2 separate regions of the Homo sapiens genome follow, and region 2 is linked to region 1. The links are contacts of gene promoters, found by promoter capture Hi-C in human tissues and cell types (Jung and others, 2019). All regions are on one chromosome and are shown on one strand. The core of a region is centred on a gene start or on the middle of the fragment in contact, and the rest is flanking DNA. Distances in the headings are between cores, read along the strand shown.

Region 1 (6,792 bases), core at 1,594-4,093:
ACGACAAGTATTGTATGATTCTGCTTACAAAAAGTACCTAGACTAGTCAAATTCACAGAGGCAGGATGTGGAATGATGGTTGCCAGGGGCTTAGGAGAGGGAGCATGGGGAATGATTGCTTAAGGGGTACAGAGTTCTAGTTTTGCAAGATGAAGGGAGCTCTAGAGATGGATGATGGTGAGGTCGCACCACAATAGGAATCTTGTTAATACCACTGGATACTTAAAAATGATAGAGAGTAAATTTTATGTGATGTGTATCTTACCACAATAAAAAAGTAAAATTAAATTGAAAAAAAAAAAGTATTGTCTGAGAGTTTTCAAGAATAATGAAAGACACCAATCATCAAATTCAGAAAGCCCAAAGAACTCAAGGCAGGATAAATAAAAAGATAACAGCATGAGCTGGGCATGGTGGCTCACGCCTGTAATCCCAACTTTTTGGGAGGTCGAGGTGGGTGGATTACCTGAGGTCAGGAGTTTGAGACCATCTGGCCAACATGGCAAAACTCTGTCTCTACTGAAAACACAAAAATTAGCTGGGCATGGTGGTGCGTGCCTGTAATCCCAGCGACTCAGGAGGCTGAGGCAGGAGAATCGCTTGAACATGGGAGGCGGAGGTTGCAGTGAGCTGAGATGGCGTCACTGCACTCCAGACTGGGGGACAGAGCGAGACTCCGTCTCAAAAAAAAAAAAAAAAAAAGATACAGCATGGTAAAACTGTAGAACATGAGAAGAGGGAGAAAAGACCAACAACCTATGAAGGAACGATGTTAAGATTGTCACTGGACTCCTGAGGAGCAATGAGGGGGAACAGGCAAACAGTGGATGGCAATCAAGTGTGCTGAGAGAGGACAGCTGTCATTCAAGCAAGCAAGCCAAAATATCTGTCAAGAACAAGGGCAAGGCCAGGCGCAGTGGCTCATGCCTGTAATCCTAGCACTTTGGCGGCTGAAGCAGGAGGATCACTTGAGCCCAGGAGTTTGAAACCAGCCTGGGCAACATAGTGAGATTTTACAGAAAATAAAAAAATTAGCTGGGCGTGGTGGTGCATGCTTTTAGTCCCAGCTACACCGGAGTCTGAGGTGGGAGGATTGTTTCAGCCTGGGAGATACAGGTTGCAGTGAGCCACGATCATGCCACTGCACTCCAGCATGGGCAACAGAGCAAGACCTCATCTCCAAATAAATAAATAAATAAAATAAAAACAACAAAAGGCAAAAATGAATCCATTTGCAGATGAGCAGAAACTGAGAGGATTTGCACCAACGAAGCTACAAAAAAATAAAATTTAAAGGATTTACCTCAGGCAAAAGGAGAGTGATCCTGTTGGTGAAAGCTGAGATGCAAGAAGAAAAGGTGGATAAAAATGGTAATTGTGTGGCTGAATCTAAACTAATGTTGACTGAATAAAACAATTTAGTAATGTCTCTTGGGGTTACAGTGGCAAAGGTTAAACTTAACATACACTACATTAAGGTGTATAATTTAGAGGATGGGTGATTAAAGTACTCCAAAGTCTTTATATTTTAAGGAAACAGGGTAAAGACATTTTTACAAATATTTAAAGATATTGGACTTTCACAAGGTAAGTATGCATGCCCAAAAGTTTGAAGTAACCACTAAAACTTAGAAATAGAGTATACAGGTGAAGAAAATCAGAATGAGAATAAAAATAAACCCTAAAGAAGAAAGGAAAGGGGAAAAAAACCAGGCAGGACAAATAGAAATAACAAAATACAATGGTAGAAATAATTCCAGATATATCAGTAAATATAATAAATGTAAATGGACTAAATGCTCCAGTTAAAATACAAAGACTATTCTTTTAAAAAACCTTTTTATCATGAAAAATTTCAAGTATACAGCAAAGTGGGAGAAACAGTACAAGAAAACCATATACCTGCGATGTAGAGTCAGCCATTGCTAGCAATTTGCCACATTTGTCTCACCTATATGGGTATGTATAGGAGACTATTAAGAACACCTATTTAACTTCCATAGTAAACATAATATAATGAAATACAATTTAAACGGTAATCATGATGTAGAGTATCCACTTTTGAGGTCAAGCAGATCTGGATTCTCCAGCAATTTTTAATTATTTAACTTACGTGTGTGGTTATTTATTCAAAAGATGTCTCTTCACTAGGCTATAGTAAAAGGATTGGAATCAGGTTCGCTTTTCTGATCATTGTATTTCTAAATATTTGTTGCATAAACAAATAGAATTTACTAGTAAAGAATTCAGCACAGTGCCAGTTGCATAGTAAACATTTAACGTAGAGTAGCTTGTATTTATTGTAGTTGCTGTTGTTATTGGAAGCATTCAGTAGAGTGATACAAAATAAATAAGCAATAATTGGTAGTTTATTATATTTATAATTATTATTTACAAGACGTCACAGTGCCTAGCCCATATCACTCACCCATAAACATTATACTTATACTAAGTACTTTCACTATTATTCAAAGTCTCTAACAGTGCCTGGCACTACATAAGCAAGAGAAAAGTGGAAGTTTATTCTAATTGTTATTATTGAATAAAGCACTTAACACGAAGCTGGCCCCCAGCGGGCCCTTAATAGTTTCCGCGGTGGCTGTCGTAGCTGGACTACAGACCCCGCCTCCTGAGCGGCCCGAAGCCCCGCCCCTTACTGCCCCGCAGTCCCGCCCCCGTGGCTTGTGCCGCGCCTGCGCACTGTCCCGGAAGGGGCTCTACGCGCGCAGCTTTAGTCCCCGCCCCTGGAGCCGGCGGCGCAGGGCGCAGCTTCCCGCCGCCAGAGCGGGCCAGCCTGCTGCGTGCGTGCGTGTGTACGACTCTGCGTGCGTGCGTGCGTGCGTGCGTGCCGTCAGCTCGCCGGGCACCGCGGCCTCGCCCTCGCCCTCCGCCCCTGCGCCTGCACCGCGTAGACCGACCCCCCCCCAGCGCGCCCACCCGGTAGAGGACCCCCGCCCGTGCCCCGACCGGTCCCCGCCTTTTTGTAAAACTTAAAGCGGGCGCAGCATTAACGCTTCCCGCCCCGGTGACCTCTCAGGGGTCTCCCCGCCAAAGGTGCTCCGCCGCTAAGGAACATGGCGAAGGTGGAGCAGGTCCTGAGCCTCGAGCCGCAGCACGAGCTCAAATTCCGAGGTAAGCCCCAGAGGCCGCCACCTTCCTGCCCGCGGCCTCCGCCCCAGTGCTGGAAGGACGGAGCCCGGCGCGGCGGGTGACGTCGGCCCTCGTCCCCACCCCGACGGCGCTGTCGCGGGGGGCGGCGAGGCCGGGCCGGGCCTTGGCGCTCGCCGCGCTCCCCAGAACTGCCCGGAGTGGCCGGGACCCGAGAGGGCTGGTGCGGGAGCCGGGGCCTGCGCCTCCTCCCCGACCCCCAGCCTCCTGGGACTTGCCTTCGAGGCACTTGTCACTTTGTAACTTACCAGTTTGTGATCCTCTCTAGTGTGAGCCTCCGCCGCTGCCTTTGCCTAGAAGTTTCTTCCCCTGCTCCGTGACAGTGTTGACCTCAGGGCTTAGTTGAGGTGTCAGCTGCTCAGAGAGGCCTGCTGTGACCACCCAGCCACCGTGCACACCTGCTGTCATTCCCTATTCCGTCACTGTTTCGTGGTCAGCACGGCACTTTTCATACCCAAAATCACTGTTTCAATACTAGAAGGGAAACTGCATGAGGACAGGCTCTTGTCAGTTCGCTGCTGTGTACCCAGCACACATTATACGCCTAGTAAATAAATACCTGTTGAACCAACAGATGAACATGTTGAACCAACAAATGAACCTCCTCAGGACTTCTGATGGGATTGGGCCCATTTTCCTTTCACTGCGTCCCTCATGCTGTCTCCTGGTTGCGGTGCAAGGAGGCTGCCACGGTGCTGGGATCCTTTTTCTCCGCAGAGCTGTCTGGAGCAACACCTGCGGCGATGGGAAGCCATGACCCTGGTTTCTCCCAGATACTATTACCTCTGTAATTTGTGCCTTTATGTTTTCTATGTTGTTACTTTTGTTTTTTTTTTTTTTTTCCTACCTTCACCAGGGCCACGAGGTAAAAGTTCTTGTCTGACATGCTCATTCTTTCTTTTTGCGTGTATCCAGTGATGTGGGAGGCTCTGGGGAGGTGATGGATGCACAAGACAGATAAGGCCTCTGCTCTCACAGAGCTTACCTTCCGACGAGGACAGACAAACCAACACACAAGATCATTGCAGATAGTGCTAAGTGCTGTGTAGGAAATGGAACAGTCTGACTCCATGGAAGCGTACTTTAGATTGGAAGGCCGGGTCTCCACTATATCGCTAGCACCGGACTCACAGTAGATGCTCAGTTGGTATTTATGAATGAATGAATGGCCAGAGGCTCTCCAGTTTATATGTCCTATTGGGAAGTAGTGTAGGGTAACTTACCCAAAGTTACCCAGTTGGCAAATGGTACATTTGAACCCAGACTTCAGAGTTCACGCTCTTAACCGTTTTGCTGTCTGATCGCTGGGAAATACTCCAGAACGGTGGCTGTCACTTTGCCTTCCAAGTTAACAATGTGAAATAACTCTGAATTTACAGAGAACCAAAGGCTTTCCAATTAAAATGAAAAAACCGAAAAACCCCACCAAACCTACCGTGGATTGTAATTCCAGGATAGTACTTGAGCTTTCATGATGTTCTCATGGCCTTCTGGGGATGCCAGATTGGGAAAGAAGTCCAGGTAGCTAAAGTGAAAATAGTGAGCCTTAGTTTCCACTTGAGTTGTCTGAAGTTCTTTCTCTATCTGGGAGGCCTGGCTTGGCTTCTCCTGATAATTGGTGGGTTCATTCGGTTAGTCCACAAACATTTACTGAGTACCTGATCTGTGTGTCAGATACCCAGAGAAGCCAAGTTATATCAGCTGTACTCTCCTATTTTCCCTCAACCTCCTCCCAGTACTTTAGGGAAGGGGGCAGATGAGAATAACAGCCAGGACAGGACAATGATGTAGGGTAGTCCAGAGTGCTCCAGGAGCATTGAGGAGGTCAACTCCTGAAAGAGGTGTCATTTGAGCTCAGTTATAAAGGTCGAGTAGAAGAAGGCTCAAAGAAGGAAAGGGTGGGGAACATTTCAGACAGAGGAAATTGCATGCACAGAGGCACAAACACTGAGATGACTGGGCTCCTTTGGGATGCCACTAGTAGTTTTTTTTTTTTTGAGATAGAGTTCTCACTCTGTCACCCAGGCTGGAGTGCAGAGGCGCCATCTCACTGCAGCCTCTGCCTCCCAGGTTCAAGTGATTCTCCTGCCTCAGCCTCTTGAGTAGCTGGGATTACATACAGGCATGTGCCACTACGCCTGGCTAAATTTTGTATTTTTAGTAGAGACGGTGTTTCACTATGTTGGCCAGGCTGGTCTCAAACTCCGGACCTCAAGTGATCCGCCCTCCTTGGCCTCTCAAAGTGCTGGGATTACAGGCGTGAGCCCGGCCACCACTAGTGGTTCTGAATGACAGCAACAAAGAACATTTGTTGTGGTTGCCTGGCAAGATGGGAGACAAGGCTGGTGAGTAGACAAGAGTCAGATCTCAGTCCCTTTATGCATAGATGCAGCCAGTGTCCAAGTTAAAATTGTGTTGCTTCTCCTTGAGCAGTCCTTCCTTGCATTAACTTTCTGAAAACCCCCAAATCCCAGTACAAACTCTGTTGTCTAATATGTTATGGAAAGAGGCACTCATTTGAGAAAATTTAAGATTTTGTTCAATTGTTTTACTGAAAGATGTGTGACCTTAGGCCACTTCACTCCTCAAAGCCTGGGGTGGTTATTCGGTCAATGGGGATGATGCTCGTGTCCACGTTGCCTCTTGTAGAACGTGTTTAGAAGGAATGACATGGCTGTTAGTGGCTTTGTAAGTGCATAGTACTATACAGAGATTAGACAACCACTTAACTACTTAAGTGGTTTCATCACTTCTGTACCTGAAAGGTGTGGCAGAGAATAGCGATCATTCTGGCCCTGGATTGGCCAAAGTAATTATGCCAAAGTCACTGGATATTTTTGCTAGGGAAGTGGTCCAAGAGAAGTGGTACCAAATTGTTGAAGGCCTCTGGCTCATAACTTTAGAAGAGACATCTGTGTGTGTTCTTAAATGACGTCATGAGGTGTGTTGTTTGTTTGTTTTAAACTGAATGCTAAGACAGTACAATTAATAGAGACTGAATACCCTGACTTAGAGATAATTCATTTCAGGATGAGAAATGGCACATTTAACTGGTTTCTTCCAGGTTACTCAGGGTGACGACTCTGATTTCTGGTCGTTCACCTAGATGAACCTCTGAGCTAACTTTACTTGAGAAGGTAATAACTAAAATGCCCATTCAAAGGAAAAATTATCTTTTAAATGCAGCCTAAGTTGATCGTATGGGATTGTATATTGTCAGACTCTTTAATCTTGGGAATTTTGTGTGGTATGTTAAATTTAAGGATGTTACAGAAGAAAAAGAATGCAAATTTATATGACTTTATGCAGTTTTATAGGAAGTACTATGCTGCATCATAAATATCAAAAGGAGAAAGCCTGGTGGCTTCCTGAAAGAAGCATGACACAGGAGGATTTGCCTAGACTTAAGGTTGACTTTCATGAGATATTTTTAGTAAGTGAACATTAAGCTCTTTCAGACTAGGGGTATCTTTCTGAGAGAGTAAATGTTTTTGTTTTTTGGCAGGGTCTTGCTCTGTCACCCAGGCTGGAGGGCAGTGGTGCCATCATAGCTCACTGTAGCCTCAAACTCCTGGGCTCAAGAGATCCTCCTGCTTTAGGTTCCCTGGTAGCTAGGACTACAGA
Region 2 (6,792 bases), core at 3,622-6,121, 1.5 Mb after region 1:
CCCAGCTGCGCGGAGGGGCTGGCGGCCTCAACCGCAAGGAGAGGCCGCAGGTGGGGACGGCGGGAGGGAGAGAAGGGACTGAAGGCGCCGAGCAGGAGGAAGGTTTTGCGCGCACTCCCTTCTTCCCTAAGTGGAACCGGCAGTGGCAACAACGAGGCCGAAGGCGAAGTCCCTGCTCCCACCGCCGGCACGGTGACCCTTTTCCCAGGGTCACCCCCGAACCAACAAAGCACACACACACCCGAGATGCGCCCCAGGCCGCAGCGCCAACCCCCCTTCAGATGTCCCGGAGACAGGCGAGCAGCGGTCCCCAGGGCTCCCGTCGCCACCGCTTCTCCCGCACCCCTCAGCCTCCTCGGGCCGGCGACGCGCGCAGCCCCAGGCCTGCTCCCCGCTCGCCAAGCGCACCGCCCCGCGCCTCAGCCACCTTGACCGAGTCGCCCACGCGCGGGGGCGGCTCCGAGCGCCCATTTCCCATCCCCGAGGCCGAGGCTGGCCAGGCAGGTGCTGATGGGGAGCCTCGCGCCTGCGCGAGCCACCCTCGCCGCGAACTCTGCACAGCCCACGCCCTGGCCCAGCCTCGGCGCCTCCCCTCCGCCCACTGCCGCAGAACCGCACCCCCTCCCCCTCGGCAGCTTCCACAACGGCTCCGCCTCAACCGTCGGAAGCTTCTCGCCTGCCGGCTTGAAAGGCCAAGCCGAAGCCCCACCCTCCCTCCGCGCCCCGCCGTGGGGGAAGCCCACCCAGGCACTCTGCTCAACCTGCCTGCGGCAGGAGGCGTCCGCGTAGTGTCGGTGGAGCCGCCCCCTATGCCGCCGAGCGTCGCAACTCTGCGCCTCAGGGACCGCCGCAGCGCCTCCGGCGAACGGCGGAAGGCGGGAAGCGCCCGTCCAATCCGCGCCAGGTGCGGTCGATAGTGCGTCCAATCGGCGTCGCCGCCAGCCAGGTCCCGCCCCCCCCATCCCCCCCACCCCCGCCAACGCTCGCCGGGGTCGCCCGAGGCCTGAGCCAAGGGGGACGCTGTGGGCGCGGCTCAGGCCAGGCCCTCAGGTTAGTGGGTCCCCGCTGTCCCCGCGCTTCGGCCCGTCCTCTCGCGCTATGCTCTCCTGATGAACGCCCCGCGAGCGGAGTCACCCCCGCCAGCGAGGAGACTCGCTGCCTTGACTGGGGCCCTGGTCCCGGGACAGGCGAGCAGGAAGGGATGGAAGGGACGGAAGCGCGGGCGGGACCAGGAGAAGCCCATCCCCGCGCTATGCGTCCCCAGAGCCACTGGGACCCGCGGCTCCAGCCAGCCCTGCAGGGGCGAGCTGGACCGGGGGACCAGGGCGCCGGGCCGACGACTCCTGGGTGAGGCCTGGCTCCTGCCGGCAGGGGGCGCAGGGCCGCCTGGGCTCCTGGGTGCGGGTGCCGGAGGGCGGGAGAGACCGCAGGTCCGGAGACGGGGTGCTGAGCTGGGTACCCAACTGTGTATTCCTAGGCTCTTTCAGACGCTTCCATTTAAGAGATCCGTTTAACTTATGCAGCCAGCGGGTGCTTGTGTAAAAAATCGCAGGCCCTTCTGAGACAGGCACAGCCGCGAAAGGGTCTCCTTGCCCCTTGGCTCGCAGAGGGCGTCGGTGTTCGGCGCTCAGTCTTCTGCGTGTTTTCCCCGTGCTCGCGTTCTGAGATGGAAACTGTTCCACGTGCACTGAGATGCAGCTCGGTCTTTCTAACAGCTTCGTAATTATTTAATCATGTGGATTAACTTCATCCGAGGAATTCAATCCTCCACTGATGAGCCTACACTTCTATTACAAATAATACTGCAGCAAACCACCTTTGGATTAATATTTGTGTCGGATCAATTTTTAAAAGTTGAATTGTATGTGTAGTTAAACTTTTATAGGTATCTTCAAATCAAAATTTAAAATTATATTTTAATAACATTTTAATTTCTTATCTAAAAGGCACTAATTGTTTAAAAATATGGGATTAAGATTTAAATGTGCGGTGGAAAGCACCTGAAAAAAATAAACACAAGGTAATAGAATCAAAGCTCAGTTGTGGACCAGAGCAGATCAAATCACAGTAAATAAGCTCTCAGAGGTGTTTTAAATATTCTGCTTAGCTAGAATTACCAACTTCTTGACAACTTTGTAACTACCCCCATTGAACTTAATTTTGATATCTTAGTTTTTTAATTCAGAGCTGACAGATTACATATGCAATCTAAGGTACACAGGTGTACGCAGGGATTTGAGGGGATTTTATATGTTCAAAGCTTTCAATGCTTTTGAATTATACGTTTAAGTACTAATAATGTATAACACAAAATGTAAGAAGATCGAAGAGTGCTTCAAAATTGTGACCTGGCAATTTTGCATAATTATTTTCATACCTAGTTTTCCGCCAATAGATCTAAGATCCTTCATGGTGGAGTTGCGAACGCACAGAAATTTTCCTAATACACTTCAAAAATTAATAGTGATGATTTTTTACCTTGCCGCTTTTTAGTTGAAGAAAAATGTTAGTCTTTTTTATTGCTTCATGTGTTCAGGAAGCCTGCGGATTATTTAGTAAACATCCGTAAACTACAACATGGAAGAAAAAAAGGATATCATTAATTTTACTGTTAATTTTTTTTAAAGGTTTTAGACCGTGGCATTTCATGAAAAACCTTCTCAATTATAATCAAAATTTGGAAACTATGTGCCGTGGTTCACACATATACTCCCTGCACTTTGGGAGGCTGAGTTGATGGGATTGCTTGAGGCCAGGAATTTGAAACTAGCCTGGGCAACATAGCTAGGCCCTATCTCTACAAAAAAACAAAATTAGCCAGGCGTGGTGGCATGTGCCTGTGCACCTAGCTGCTCTACGCCGGAGGCTGAGGTAGGAGAATTCTGCTTGAGCCCAGGAGCTGGAGGCTGCAGTGAGCTATGATTGCACCACTGCACTCCAACGTTGGTGACAAGGCAAGACCTTCTCTCAAAAAAGAGAAATATCATAATGTGGCGTTCAATTAATTTAGCTTTCTGAATCAACAAGCATTTATTTGCAATATTCTATATGTCATATAACAGGTAGAGAGAGCATTGACTTTGAAACAGGTTTCAATGTTCAATTTGTTACTTACCAGCTATGGGACTTTAGGTGAATTACAGTTATGTATTGCTTAATGATAGGGGTAAGTTCTGAGAAAGGTGTCCTCCTCAAGCAATTTTGTTATTGTGTGAATATCTTAGCGTTTACTTACAAAAACCTAGATGGTATAGCCTACTACACACCTCAGGTATATATAGTACAGTCTATTGCTTCAAGGCTGCAAACCTGTATACAGCATGTTACTGCAGTGAATACGGTAGACAACTGTAACACAAGGGTATTTGTGTATCTAAACACAGAAAAGATACGGAAAAAAATCTGGTATAATTCCATGGATCCACGTCATATATACAGTTACCCTGTTGAGTGAAATGTTATGTGGCCTATGGCTGTACTTACACCACTCTGAGCTTTATTTTCAGCTAAGAAAAAGGGGATATTGTCTACCAGGTAGCATAACATTCAGAATTAAATGAAATCACATATTTAAAGCACTTAGCACTGTGGCCAAGCAAATAAGGGAAGACAAAATAAATGTAAGTTTTCTTCCCCCATGTGCAAGACTTTGTACTTAGGTGAGGGTCACGATCCGGAAGGCAGACAGACAGACACTCATTACTGCCTGCACAGTGTCATTAACTGTTGTAAGAGAAGTACATTAATGATCACATTCCCTGTATTCCCCTAGAGCTTTCTTCATACCTCATGCTGACCTGGCATATAAAATTGCATTTCCTTTTCTCAAAGACACATACAACAACTCTGCTACTGACGCTGAGGCACAATGACAAAATTTATTTTTGCCAAGGCTCTACGTTTATCAGTGTTGTAGAAAGGATAAGACTTGCATGTGAAATGATTTAGACAAGAAGTTTCTAAAGCTTGGTCTTCTGTAATTAGGCCACAAGAAAAACATACTGAAGCATAATAGAATGGCTCACAACTGTTTTTGCACATATACTTTAATACTTAGGCTTGGGTAAAATCATTTTAAATAACATATTAAAATATGTTTGGGGGGACAACCCAGCAATTGCACAGCCCACTAGAAAATTTTAACATCTAAGTAATATAACTGTTTTAGGGTCTGAAAGTTCTCCTTCAGTTGTTCCACAGCCTCTTTATCAACTAGGCAAATATATTTAAGCTTTTAAATTTCATAATGTTGGTATTTTTTAAAAGGCACGGGAGGTTCACTTAATATTAAATATATAACATTCACTTTCATAACCAAAACCTTTTTGGCAAGTGACTTTCACATAGATTATGAGATTCTCTACATGCCTTAAAATAAATCTGGCAGCTCTTAACTCATATCTAAATTCTCTGGACAACTGTCTTGCTCTCTGTTTTGGGGCCAGGGGCGTAGCAGTGAAGGCCCTAACAGGCTTGCTGACCTAATTGGACAGTTTGTTAAATAGCAGGAAATGTAACAAGGCTTCTCTCTCTCTTGCATGTTAATGTAGTGAACAGTGCTAATAGCCAGAGATTGTGCAATTTAGTCACAATATTTCAAGCCAAAATTCAGTGTTCTTATATTAAAAGATACCGAAGAAAGCTATCCTTGTTCTTTGAATTATAAAAGCACAGAGGTTGCAATGATCAGAACCAAACTGGTTAAAAGCCGAAATGCATCCTTTCAGTATTGATTTGACAGATGCCAACAAGCATTCAAAAATTTAGAGTTAATTTCTTGGTGACAGGTAGCATAAAATTGATCAGACTGGTTTCAGCTGTATCATAAGCTTCACAAATTGGAGATCTTGTCCTTCCTGGCTGTTTTTTTTTTTTTCCCACACCTTAATTCTAGCACCTGTTGTCAGACCACTGTTCAGCACCAAAAGAACTCCTCAGCCTGGAGTTCTTTGGAGTTTTAAGTGATTGCCTAACTCAGCAGGGGACAGTGGTCTTGACTTCTTGGTTGACGGTTTAAAAACATAAAAGAATTTTATATTTTAAAACTGACAAACTAGAAAATGTTAGAAACTCTATCTGAAGGCAGAAAGTATAAAGTTGGTGGGTACCTGATAAAACATGATGTATGTAAATACAGTTCAAAACAATTTAAAAGTATAAATATTTGTCAATTATTTTTCCTCCAGTGCTCTGGCTATTGCTGAAAACACCTTCTAGTTCCACCTTGTAACTGGACTCCCAAAAGATGAATGCTGACATCTTCTGATGCTTAACAAGAAATAAAAATAGTCACCTTAATCATCAAAAAGGTAATTGCAAAGGGCACTGTTGCCTGAAATTCTCTAGTCACCTGAAAACTGAAATAACTGAGGCAAGACTTCTTAAAATGCTTAGTTTCAAACTTAAACAGAATGGCCTGATAATGATCAAACATGTACAGAGAAATACATGAAATCAGAATTGTGAATGCAGAGAAATAACTGTTTTGCTAGTTTAAAAGTCTGAAGCTTTTCCCTCCTCCCCAGCTGTTAATGTAGGAGACACACAGCCTAACCAGGACAGTCTCAATGCCCAGGAATGGTTGTGTGATGACTGATAAAGCAGAAATTTCTTGCCTATTAATAGTTTCCCACTGTTAGAAGGCTACAGCCGTTGGCAATCAGATGTGGGCTCAGGTTTTCCTTATCCTGGGGCAGGAATGCCTGGAGGGACCACGATGTGGGTCACACTGTACATTCTGTTTACTGTGGGCACAAACACAGAACTTTTTTTTTTTAGCTTATTAAATCGAGAATATTCCTGAGGAGGCATCCGCTATGGGCTAAAGGTCCCAACATCACAATAATAAATAACAGCTATGTTTACAGAGACACATTCAGGACACATGCAAAAGCTTTTCCTAGCAGGAGGACTTGGGCCTTTGCAAAACAAGCTGCTTGGGCCTCCCCAGAGGGCCCACCCTCCCATGCACCTACCCCACCACCCTGCCCCAACTCATTACACAACTCGGCCTTCTGGCCACCTGAGGCTACTTTTTAGACCAAGTGACTCAGACGTTTCAAGTAGAAGACAGGATGGGCCACTGCCAGGGGACCTTGCAGCAGAAAATTAGGTCAGAGGACTTGGAGGGTGGTGAAGAACAACCAGATAGATGTGAGAGCCCAGCAGGGAAATGACAGGAGGCGCAGCTTAGGTGTGGAGGCTCCAGGTGGCCGGTCCCCGCGCGGCTCAGATGAAGTGGATCCAGCTCTCTTCGCACTCCCCGCGAGGCATGTGCAGCGCGTGGTTGCGACATGTGAGGCTGTAGTCTCGGTGGTCGTTGTTGTCCCAGTACTCGGCACCCGCCACTTGGTAGCGCACCGCGAAGTGCACGCGGGAGCCGAGCTCCAGCAGGAAGGGCGGTACTGGAAAGCCGAAGGTGAAAACGTCCTCCGTGCCCTCGGGGCCTGCGGGCCCGCGCCACCGCGCCACCGCCTCGTGGGTACTGCGCCAGCCCGAGAAAGTGTAGCGCACAGCCACCTGCTTCTCGAAGGCCACGTTGCACACGCGCACCGTACCGCTGATGCCAAGGTCCGAGCAAGTGACACGCTCCAGGCACACGAGCTGCCGCTGCAGGCGCTCGCCAAAGTCGGCGGCCTCGACGGGCGGCGGGAAATCGGGCACCAGGCAATGCAGGGTGAACTCCAGGTCCTGGCTGCTGCAGCACAGGTCCGAGTTGATTGCGAGCCGCGACAGCACGTGCAGCGGCACGGACGGGTCGTCTCCCGCGTTGAACACCTTGACCTGTGCCAG

What was found. Contacts are between HindIII fragments. The study calls those that stand out against the background at their distance.
Region 2: a contact is called between a fragment that was not itself captured here and the fragment with the promoter of VAPB in region 1, in 1 of the 25 tissues and cell types used here (dorsolateral prefrontal cortex).

Annotation. Positions count from the first base shown.
Region 1 is chr20:58,386,386-58,393,177 of GRCh38, forward strand. It overlaps VAPB (VAMP associated protein B and C), which reads left to right and starts at 2,844. Exons shown (of 6, transcript NM_004738.5): 1 at 2,844-3,132. The coding sequence starts at 3,075. RefSeq lists silencers at 2,553-2,992, 3,253-3,372. The HindIII fragment of the contact is 14,716 bases long and covers 1-6,792 here.
Region 2 is chr20:59,932,804-59,939,595 of GRCh38, forward strand. It overlaps PPP1R3D (protein phosphatase 1 regulatory subunit 3D), which reads right to left. Exons shown (of 1, transcript NM_006242.4): 1 at 3,860-6,792. The coding sequence ends at 6,229. SYCP2 (synaptonemal complex protein 2) reads right to left here and starts at 834. Exons shown (of 45, transcript NM_014258.4): 1 at 766-834. It also overlaps a transcript of FAM217B not described here. RefSeq lists a silencer at 1,125-1,524. The HindIII fragment of the contact is 3,518 bases long and covers 3,113-6,630 here.